Linked DNA regions of Homo sapiens: all the other regions are linked to region 4. The links are contacts of gene promoters, found by promoter capture Hi-C in blood cells and fetal thymus (Javierre and others, 2016). All regions are on one chromosome and are shown on one strand. The core of a region is centred on a gene start or on the middle of the fragment in contact, and the rest is flanking DNA. Distances in the headings are between cores, read along the strand shown. Region 1 overlaps FMN1 (formin 1). Region 2 overlaps FMN1 (formin 1). Region 3 overlaps FMN1 (formin 1). Region 4 holds the start of SCG5-AS1 (SCG5 antisense RNA 1).

Region 1 (2,700 bases), core at 131-2,630, 210 kb before region 4:
TGGCGGTCCGTTTCATCTTAACGTTTCCATTCAGGTTTCACCTCCTTTTCCATAAGGCCTTGGTGTGAGCTGAGATTGAATGTTTAATTGAAGAGGACATAATTTTCACACATACAGCAAAGATTTGATGAGGCTTTGAGGTTTATTGTAGCCATTAAAGTGTCGTAGCTGCTGGCAAAATCCCAGAAAATGTCTAAAGCTAAACCAGATGTGATTAGCAAATTTCAAGAAGTATCAGGCCCTAGATCTCCAGGCAGGCAGAGTCTTTTAAAAAAAAAAAAAAATAGTATTAACACACCTTAACCTAATGTGAATTAACCTATGGTTATTGGTCATACTAATGTCACTGATTTAAGTAGAAGTTGTCATTAAGCATCTTTCAGAGAGGCAAGAACTTTGAATGGCATTTTTATGCAGGTAAACGTAGCATGGAATTGATAATAGTATCAACTGCAACTTATTGTGTCATTATTATCTATCAAGTGCTTTATCTATATCACCTCTTTTAATTCTGCAGTGACCTTGTGAGGCAGATACTATTTTTGACTTCTCACAAGATAAGAAAGCTGAAGTTTGTGGTGCTCAAGTAATTTGCCAGTGTTTCAGAGGTGATGATCTAGTCAAGTTTTGAAACTAGATACGACTTCTAAGGCATGTGTTCAATACATATCACGCCTGTGACCCAGAAGTCACCACATCTGATTGGAGATCAGACAGAAAGTTTTGGCATTCAAAATGTGAAGCCTCATGAAGAAAAAAATTAGAGTTACTGAACATATATACACAAGCATGCACACGTGTGCACACACTCCCAAAACCACACATGTAGACTGTCAGATCAGATAGAGTCACAGGAAGGAACTTGCTTTGGGTTGGAATTGGAAAGGGGAAGAAGTCCAGGTAGATGGATTGTCAAATAGACATACAAATAGGCACATTACATAGGACTAAGATCAGGCTTTGAGTTCAGATGTGTATGTTTTACTGGTTCAGTGAAAGTAACAGCTTGTCAAGTAGCATAATCGTAGAAAGTATTCACTTTCTCACCTGTAAAATGGGACAGTTATAGGACCTGCATCATAGGAAATAATGTCTGCACAGTTTCTTAGTGAGGGCAGCTTCAATAAAGCTGATTAAGGGCATGTACCTTTCACTGGAAAGTGCACAGCCTGTATAATCAGCCGGTGTTGCTGAGAGGCCAGCTGGCTATGTTTGTGGAGTATCTAATTCACAGAGCACTTGTGCTTGCTTCTCTACATTGTAAAGAGAGAACCAAGTTCTTGGTGCTTGGGAACATGTTCCATATTTTGTTTATTGTTCTACATCCCTTAACAAGACAATAATTTCAATTTCCCTGATACTGTGAAGTTGTAAGCAATAATTGAGAAAACACAAACAATGGCAATAGTTACTTTCATTCTCCCTCTTTGTCCTTGCTGGCTGGAACTCTCAGGGTGTTCTTACCCACCCATATGTGGTAGGCAGAATAATGCCCCCCAAGGATGTCCAAACCCTAATCCCTAGAATCTGTGAACATGTTGCCTTACATGGCAAAAAGGGACTTTGCTGATGTTGACATGGGGAGATTATCCTGGACCGTCCAAGTGGGCCTAATCTAATCACATGAATCTTTAAAGTCAGTCTTTAAACGCTGAGGACTTTCCCTGGCTATGATCAGAGGGAGATATAACGACGTAAGAATGATCAGAGAGATGTAATGTCGCTGGCTTTGAAGATGGAGGAAGTGGGCCGTGAGCCAAGGAATGTGGGAAGCCTCTAGAAGTGGAAAAGGCAAGGAACAGATTCTCCCTAGAGCCTCTAAAAGGGAGTACAGCCCTGTCAGCACCTTGAGTTTAGCCTGTGAGTCCCATGTCAGACTTCTAACATATAGAACTAAAAGGTGATATATTTCTGGTGTTTTAAGCCTCCTAAGTTTGTGCTAATTTATTATAGTAGCAATCAGAAACTAATACACCAAGGAGTGGACTCTTCTTTCTGATTGCACCAGTTAATACCAGAGACAGACACACACACATACACAAACACACACATGCGCGTGCAGCATTGCTGAAACTATAGATGTAGGATTCGTCAAATAGTAGCACCTAAAAATATTACCTGAAATGTGAACTGGAACTGTTGTTCTCTGAAAGAGTCTATGATCAAATAAACCTGGACATGCTCTGTACGAAAATCATATCCTAGGGATTCAAAGCACATGAGCTTATTAAAGCCTCTGGGAAGTTCTGTAGTTAAAAAAAAGTTTAATGCTGTTTAAAACAGCATTTCCTAACTTAAAGCATGAAACATTGGCTTGCTTTCTTTTCCCTTTCATTGTCTACTTAGTAATATTTTTACAGAGCATAAGTTGTGTAAAAGGTACTTTAAGAAGAAAGGATATTGATTGTACTAGCAACACGGTTGTTGGTGAAATGATATTACTGGGTCCTGCCTGCAGGAGTCAGGATCTCTAGTAACGTAGGGGAGGGCAGGTCTGACTTAGCAGAAACAAGGCCACATGTCATTACTTACCGCTTGATCTCATTCTTTTTTTTTTTTTTTTTTTTTTTTTTTTTTTTTGAGATAGGTTCTTGCTCTATTGCCCAGGCTTGAGAGTAACAGCACAATCATGGCTCACTGAAACCTCAATATTCTGAGCTCCAGCAATCCTCCTACCTCAGCCTCCTAAGCAGCTGGGAC
Region 2 (2,700 bases), core at 150-2,649, 140 kb before region 4:
CCTCCCTATAGTGTTAGTGCTGTTTGTGCCTGTGTTAATGTATCAGTCTAAAAGCAGGACATAGGATGGGCATAGTAATCTCTTGCTTTTCAGTTCTACTCTACTCTTCACTATTTTGTTGCAAACAAAAGATGGAAGATTAGAAATTTCTGTGCCAAAAAACAGGCACTTAATGAGTAGGGACTGTGTTCTGCTAACATGGGTTCTTCTGTTGTGTACTTTTCCATCTGTCAAATAAGTACACAAGGCTGGGCACGGTGGCTCACGCCTGTAATCCCAGCACTTTGGGAGGCTGAGGCAGATGGATCACTTGAGGTCAGGAGTTTGAGACCAGCCTGGCCAACATGGTGAAACCCTGTCTCTACTAAAGATACAAAAATTAGCCAGCCATGGTGCGTGCCTATAATCCCAGCTACTTGGGAGGCTGAGGCTGGAGAATCACTTGAACCCGGGAGATGGAGGTTGCAGTGAGCTGAGATTGCATCACGGCACTCCAGCCTGGGTGAAAGAACAAGACCCTGTCTCAAAAGAAAAAAAAAAATAAGTATTTGAGTACCTGCTAGGTAATAGTTGAGAGAAAAACTCTGAAAACAGATTTTGGTTGCAACTCTGAAAGGAGCACAGAGTCCAGTGGGAAAAGCCAGCTGCAAGCCAGTGACCTTGACATAGCATTCTGTGTGCTGTGATAAGGAATTGTGGGGAGATAGTGTGTTTGGATCTCCACAGAAAGAACGGCTCACCACATTATGGGGGAGAGGCATGGAGGGCCCCTCAGAGGAGATTTTCAAGCTTGGTTTTCAAAGAAAGAGAAGACATTCAAACAGAAGGGTAGGAGAAGGGAGAAGGGCAAGGAAGAGAAGGCATTAGAAACAGAAGGAGCAAAGTGCCCAAAAATAAAGACACCATGCAGCAAGTTAAGTCCAGAGACCAGCCATGAGTCCCACGCAGCAGGAGCTCTGGGGATGATAGTATGGGGATGGCAGGAGGCAGGTGTGAGGGGCACACTGTGAACTGCAAATGCACTTTGTCTTCAGAGGGGGAACCAGTGAGAACATTAAGCAGAAAAGGGGCATAGTTCACTTTGCCTTCTAAAATGGCAGTTTTGGTGGCAACAAAGAGAATTGAATTTACTGTGCAATGAGGGGAACCTGTTACAGGTCACCATATAGAGCCTAGAGGTTAAGGAAGGAATCTTAGCTCTCAGAAAACTTAACCTCTCAAAAAAAGACTCCTGTATCATTGTCTTTTATTTGGTATTGGGGAAGTGATCCAGTTAATCAGGTCAAAGATTACAGAACTCCATGGTCATTAAGGGGAAAAAACAGGTGAGAGTAATCATTAAGTACCTCTCCCCTCACATCCACCCCCATGACTCCCAGTTATTTGTTAAATTATAAATAAGTTTTTCTCTTTCTCCTGAGGATGAAATAAAACAAAATGAGCTGAAACAGCAAATAAAATGACTTTAGGTCAGACATAGGGAACCACCCTTTTGTAGAAAAGCCTTTTACAGGCCATGCTAAGGACATCAGCTCAGTGAGTGAAATGAAAAAAAAAAAAACACTAAAGTTTTGAGCATAAATGATAACAACCAAAATTCTTGTCTACTGAAAGCAGTTATGAACATTCTAAAGAAAGCATGTTGTGTGCAATTTTGTGATAACCATGCCAAAAAGTCAGAAAGCTAGAGTAGTGACTACTAGCATTTGCTTCTAGCCAATAGACAATAAATGGCTGCCATTCTGGAATGCCCATCATATGTCAGTCACTAGATTAATCTCACACGTTCAGTATATCTCATAGTCACAAGCACTTTGCAAGGTAGATCTTATTATTCCCATTTTACGGATAAGGCTCAGTGGAGTTAAGTGATTTTCTGACGATCACCCAGTTAATAAGTATCAGAGCAGAAATTAAACCCAGGTCCACCTGGTGCAAAACCCAAGCTCTTTCCTCTATGCTACACTTCATTTAACTCTGGCAAAACAGCCAACCCACTGGAAGCTTGAACCCCCAGCAGCCATGGCATGACGTTGAACTGTCAAAGACCTGACTGCAAAGACTGGCTGCAACTATGTGGGAGGGTAGGTATCATCATCTCCATTTGACAGAGCAGGAGACTGAAACACAGGACACTGTGATTGGCTCATGACACTCAGGTGACACAGCTAGGGTTAAAGCTTGGCAGTTAGTTATCATGAGTTCTGATTTGCATTCCTTGGGCCCATAGCCATGGAATAGAAAGCCATTTCTGCTTCACTTGGTAGGCTGTGGAACTATGAACTTCAGAATTGTTCTTGTGGAGCAATTGTATGATATATAGTTCCCGTATTGAAAAGCTAGAACTAGAACGTTGGAACACCGGGATTCTTATACTTGGCCCACAGTGACCTTATTTGTTGATGGTATTAGAATTTGAGTTTGTGACTCCAGTCTTTAAACATGGTTCTTCCAGGTCATGTATTTGTGTTTTGCTTAGAGCATCTTGAAGACTTAAAATGTGTAATGGCCTGGTTTAAAATTTTACACATTCAAGTAGGAGAAATATTTCATGCTGTTAGAGCTTCCAAGTCACACCATAAAGGTAGATGCCTTTTGTATCTGTACAAGGGCAAAATTAGGGAACATTTAAATCTCTAATTTCTTCTCATTTTCCTGAAGGCCCTTTTCCCTAAACCCTCAGAGTTTTCTGCAGTGTGC
Region 3 (2,700 bases), core at 12-2,511, 240 kb before region 4:
TGTACGGTCCCCTGGCCTTGCCTCCGAGTGGTCCTTCCACGCTCCACACCCCTCTCTACTGGCTCCCCTTCTTTCCACTTCTTGCAGTTTTTTTCATAGACTTGGTGTTTGCTCTCAAGGATGACCTCATTGTTGGGAGGGAAAACTGTGGGAAGATGTTTCTGCCTTCCCTTTCCTCAACTCTCAGATTGTACTACTGCCTCTTCCCATGAACCCCATGTTATCGTTGCCTTTGTAGAGGTCACGGAGTAGGTTTGTCAGAGTTTTGTGGGATATAGGTGACATGAGAGTTTCAAAAAACCAAGTCCTTCTATATTTCTTTCCCTGCTCTGTTCTCTTTCTCTTACTGATTGAATTTCTGTCGAGTTCTGAAAAATACCAGTATTTTGGGCAAAGCAGCTAAGTTTTATTTTGGCTGTTGCAGAGTTAACATTGTAAACAAAATAATTTCTGCTAATAGAGTCAAGTAATCCTATCAAACTTTGCTTTCCTGGGCTGGACCAGACTATATCTAGTCCATTTGCAAAACATTATTACATACCCGCTTTGTGCAAGAGGCTTACATCAGTCACTTAAGGAAATAAAAAGAAGAATAAAACAGGCTACGTACAAATCATTCTCAAAACCACCGTCAGCCGAAACCTGGTGAGCCAACCCAACCCTACCTACCTGTGGCATCTCCCACACTTCGGATGACCAGATTTACTTTGGCTAATCTTAACAGACTATACAAGGTATGCCTTTCTCACCACCGTGTCCCATGCTTCTTGCTCAGAGGTGCTCCCTCAGTCAAAGAGAACAACTCCCTTAAATAACTCTGCCTGTCTTTTTACTCATTAGAAGCCCTTCGAACAGCAAGTGCATTCTTTGTTTATATGGGCATGGTACACTTGGAGAGAGAAGTGTTCAGGGTTGAAAAATGGCTGGAGAGCTGAGAGAATCCTGCATGTTCTTTCTACTTAACCCTGGTCTTGTGAAAAGCCATCTCTTACCCGGAGGGGGAATTTTCCCTGTTGTATGAGACCCTGACCCCTTGCATGTGCCCTAAAGCAGGCACATAGTTTTTATGTGTGCCTGTTAGTTTGAATTTGTGATACTGATCTGCTTTTTGTCCCTGCTGACGGTTATTATATCTTAATGGGCGAAACACTACTCTAATGATCCTTGTGTATATAATTCTTGTGGTACAGAGCAGGCACCAGAGGACCACATAAAAATGTTTGCCTCAATTTCCCTGCAAAAAAGAAGCCCAGAAACCAGACTTGACCAAGTAACAGATTTTTAAAGGTAAAGGAATCTAATAAAATTACCAGCTTTTCACAGCGTGTGTCTACTTCCTTTTGACATATTGTGAGGTGTAGGTGAAATATTCTAACCGAACTGACAGTGTGAGTGGGACAACTAAGGAGGGAAGGAGATAAAAGTAAAAACCACCAGCAGTGATTGATATTGCAGTAGCAATGAGCTGTTGGGGTCTCCCCTTTGTGGACTTGACACTTCACCTTTCTGACACCATCTGCAGGAGTGTTAGTATAATGAGACCTATACAGATGGAAACAAAAGTAGGATTACTTGGAATTACTGTATCAGAGCTTTGAGGCTTGCTGTAAAATTGCATAGGCTTGTATTTGTTGGTTCAGTTTATGAGCGGTGTGCCTGTGTGCACACACATGCGTGGAAGAGACAGAGACAGAAAGTGAGTGTTTTCAAAGTATAAAATGGAGGGAGCGATCTGATCTTGGGTGACGCCGAAAATAGTTTAGTTGAAGACTGACTTCTTTCCACATTGTGATCATTATGATTACAAATTAGTTAACTAATTAATTGGGCTTATGTAATGGCTAATAAGTTTAATGGTAAGTGCTTGCAAGAATGACTTAATCGGAGAGCATTCATTGATTCTCTAATACGTTGTTCCAGTATTTTGAGAATAGAATTATCAGGTGTGGATTCTGGCTCTCTAGGAACCTAAACTATATTTGGTGACTAAGACATGGGATTATGTACATGTAAGGCAGTTCTCTTAGGCATCCTAGGACTTGGTAGGCCTTTTTATTTTTCAGACTTCTGGCTGATACCCTAACCTTCCCAGGCCAATATTATTAGAAATAATACAACTAATTTAATCTCCATAAGTTCTAGGCTCAGTATCAATCTCTTGATATTGCTTCTGCTACCTCTGAATTTTCTTTTACTTTTTAGATTTTATTTTTAAGATCCTTCCGTGGAAGAGGAGAAACTTCAGTGGAATACTTGGCATTGGCCCTAAGTTCATCTGTTTATCTACTTCTTTTACCTGTCCTTTCCTCTCTACTCCATTCCTTTCCCAGTCCCTGGGGGACAGATCAGTAGTCATGCTCACCTCTTAGACTCCTCTGCCTGTTTCTGGGGGGATGGTACAAAGCTCTTCCCCTAAACCTAGGCTCAAAGCCTCAGAGTGGTTTCAGGCTAAGTCCCCAGAGCTAGTTAGCAATGTCACTATAATAGTGCTCTGTAGTGTCTTTCTTTTTTGCCCTATCCTTTCTGTCCACACTATTCAAGTTTTTGCTACCTCTTGCCCATTACAATAGATTCTAAATTAGTCTTTTCAAATTTTGACTTTTTGTGTGTGTAATATAATTTTGTCCAATTTACTCCTCCATTCATAACTGCTCAACAGCTCTCTCCTGTATAACAAGTGTATTACAGGTTCATCGTGGC
Region 4 (2,700 bases), core at 151-2,650:
AAGTTTTACTTGGCTCTGAACAGCCATGGCCTTTTTGTTGCACTGGTAGGGTTTTTTTCATTGTTTAATTTTAGAGTAAATCTCTGTTATCATATTTTATCTTGATATAATTTGACTCTCTAAAATGTGCATAAAAAACAAAATCCGAATTAACAGAGGTTTCCGATTATAGTACCATCTCACTTATCTCTTTAGAGAGAACGTGCTGTTTCATGTAGTATTCAGATCACTGAAGCATCGGTTTAAGATCAAGATTTATTTAACCATTTTAAAGGAGAATTTTCCACTATGAACATTAGGTAAATACTTTAAACAGCAGGAGAATATGACTTTGCCTGTTCTTGATAATTTGGGACTATTACTGGGAATATCAATGACTATACAGTGTTGTAACAGTGTATTCTCAGAGTATTAAAGGGCATTCGGATATAAAACTATATTAAATGGGCCGGGTGCGGTGGCTCACACCTATAATGCCAGCACTTTGGGAGGCAGAGGCGGGTGGATCACAAGGTTAGGAGTTCAAGACCAGCCTGGCCAAGATGGTGAAACCCCATTTCTACTAAAAATACAATTACAGGCAGGCGCCTGTAATCCCAACTACTCAGGAGGCTGAGGCAGGAGAATCACTTGAACTTGGGGAGTAGAGGTTGCAGTGAACCGAGATCATGCCACTGCACTCCAGCCTGGGCGGCAAAGTGAGACTCCGTCTCAAAACAAACAAACAAACAAACCTATATTAAATGGTCCCAGATGCAATAGTTTTTAATGTTCTTTGTCACCTCACTCCTTCTAAGTTATTAATTCTAGTCATCCCAAATCCTTTCCATAATGAAATACAATAAATTGAGAGTGCGCCTAGGCCCTGCAAGTCTCTTCTAATTTTACCCTCCCCCGCACAACACACACACACACACACACACACACACACACACACGGGGATCTTATCCAAATGTGGATTCTGATTCAAGGTGAAGGGTGGGGCCTGAGATTCTGCATTCCTCACAAGCTCCCAGATAGTGCAGATGCTGCTGGTCCATGAGCCACATTTTCAGTAATAAGGGGCTAGAAAATGAGAGAGCCAGGCTTATTAAAATTATATATAAAATGAGATAAAATTAGCTCCGAGAGAGTGCCTAGGTGATCTTGCTTTATGGAATTTGTGACATCGGTGTGGCTGCTAAGAACCTTCTTAAAAGTCTGCAGTTTCAGATAAAGGAGCTGTCACTGCCGTTGTAGTCCTTTTACTTAAAGTTTTACTCTACAGAGGCACTTGCTCACACTTTGCAAGGAAAGGATCCTGCTGCCCCATTTTTTACTTACGCTAGTTCTGTGGGAATTAGAGGTAAACACCTCCCTTGAACGTGAGTTCTCATAGTATAAGCGATGTCCGTTGGAGAGCCTGATGATGTCCCACCACGATGCAACGGCTCTCCTGGCTGGGGCTAGTGGAAGCAGTTTTGATGGAAGTTAAGGTTGGTCAGAAATTAAGAACATAAATGGGACCTGCGTTACTTCGTCACTCTGTCTCTTTTTTTTTTTTTTTTTTTTGTGATGTTATGGTTTCAACAGTTTCAAAGTGCTTTCATCCTTATTAAAAACGTCCTAGTGAGGTCAGTAGGACAAGAATCACTATTCATCATTCTAAGTGAGAAAGTGAGACCTGGGGAAAGGTTTCTTGCCTAAAGCCACTCAGCAAGTTGGTGCTATTTTGGATTCCAGCCCTGTGTTCACTCTACAGTGGCACTGAGAGAGCCCCCACGAGGCCTTCTGCGTCCATTCATACCCTTTCCAGTGCGTTTCCGTCTTCCAAAGATGAGCTGGAGCTCCACAGCCACAGTTAGTAGAATGACCTGTCGGGGTACCTGGGGTCTCTCATAGTTTCCAGGTCACTCAGGGGATCTCCGGTGTCAGTGACTACTGCAGAGCCAGGCCCCGGCAAAATGGCTCTGGGATGGGACGCCACCTGTGGGCCTCGCCACCATGGTTCCTTCGCACCTGAGTGCCCACCTCACGCTGGAGGTTTGGAACATCCGGACAACCCCTGCCCTCCAGACTCTGCCACACAACTTGGGAACACCCTGACAAGCCCGCAGCCAGCATCGTCCCATTCGCACCCCTCACGCTGCCTGCAGCCCTGGGGATTCATGCAATTGGGCACTGGCGCTGGGCAATAAAGAATTGTGGTGGGGCAGCCTGGTGCCAGGGAGCCAGTCGCCCACCTCGTAAAAAGGGAGTTCTGTGAGGAGCGTCTGGCAGGGAGCGGGCACAGGCCCCTGAATACCAGCCATTCAGCTGAAGGGAACGGGTCCAGCAGTTTTCACTTATGTTACCACAAACAGCAGATGCTAAAAATACACTGCGGTCTCGATACATCATTCAGAAAGCGACGGACCAGTTTTCCTTTTGTCAGCGGTCTGGGAGCCTGAAGCAGTCGGATGGGGCATTCCAGACACCGCCTGGCCTCCTTTGGTTTCCCCTCAGACTCTGACAGAGCTGAAGGTGCCAGCGCGAGAGCGCCCGAGGAGACCAGGAGAGAAGGTGGAGAGGCGGCAAGGCTCCCCAGGCTAAGGGAAGGCAAAGCGGAGTGGGGCGAGGAAGGGGCGGGGTGGCTCCTTCTGGAGGCCACAGAACAGCCTGGGACTCCCTGAGGCGACACCGGCCGCAGGCACCAGGCACTGGGGGCTAAGAGAAACCCCG

Evidence for each region. Contacts are between HindIII fragments. The CHiCAGO score rates a contact against its expected background, and 5 or more counts as called.
Region 1: a contact is called between a fragment that was not itself captured here and the fragment with the promoter of SCG5-AS1 in region 4, in 3 of 17 cell types (M1 macrophages, M0 macrophages and M2 macrophages). The highest score is 8.2, in M1 macrophages.
Region 2: a contact is called between a fragment that was not itself captured here and the fragment with the promoter of SCG5-AS1 in region 4, in 1 of 17 cell types (M1 macrophages). The highest score is 5.1, in M1 macrophages.
Region 3: a fragment that was not itself captured here is called in contact with the fragment with the promoter of SCG5-AS1 in region 4 in 5 of 17 cell types (M2 macrophages, M0 macrophages, endothelial precursors and 2 more); the score reaches 9.6 in M2 macrophages.

The regions. Positions count from the first base shown.
Region 1 is chr15:32,883,390-32,886,089 of GRCh38, reverse strand. The region is part of intron 16 of FMN1 (formin 1); the gene reads left to right. Among named protein-coding and RNA genes, the nearest start is that of GREM1-AS1, 170 kb to the right of the region's middle. The HindIII fragment of the contact is 7,337 bases long and covers 1-2,700 here.
Region 2 is chr15:32,807,763-32,810,462 of GRCh38, reverse strand. All of the region lies in intron 17 of FMN1 (formin 1), which reads left to right. The region is part of intron 1 of LOC107984089 (a long non-coding RNA gene); the gene reads right to left. Among named protein-coding and RNA genes, the nearest start is that of GREM1-AS1, 90 kb to the right of the region's middle. The HindIII fragment of the contact is 1,215 bases long and covers 792-2,006 here.
Region 3 is chr15:32,914,519-32,917,218 of GRCh38, reverse strand. The region is part of intron 10 of FMN1 (formin 1); the gene reads left to right. Among named protein-coding and RNA genes, the nearest start is that of GREM1-AS1, 200 kb to the right of the region's middle. The HindIII fragment of the contact is 4,132 bases long and covers 1-2,700 here.
Region 4 is chr15:32,671,765-32,674,464 of GRCh38, reverse strand. It overlaps SCG5-AS1 (SCG5 antisense RNA 1), which reads left to right and starts at 1,400. Exons shown (of 4, transcript NR_135505.1): 1 at 1,400-1,475. All of the region lies in intron 10 of ARHGAP11A-SCG5 (ARHGAP11A-SCG5 readthrough), which reads right to left. The region is part of intron 2 of SCG5 (secretogranin V); the gene reads right to left. The HindIII fragment of the contact is 5,358 bases long and covers 1-2,700 here.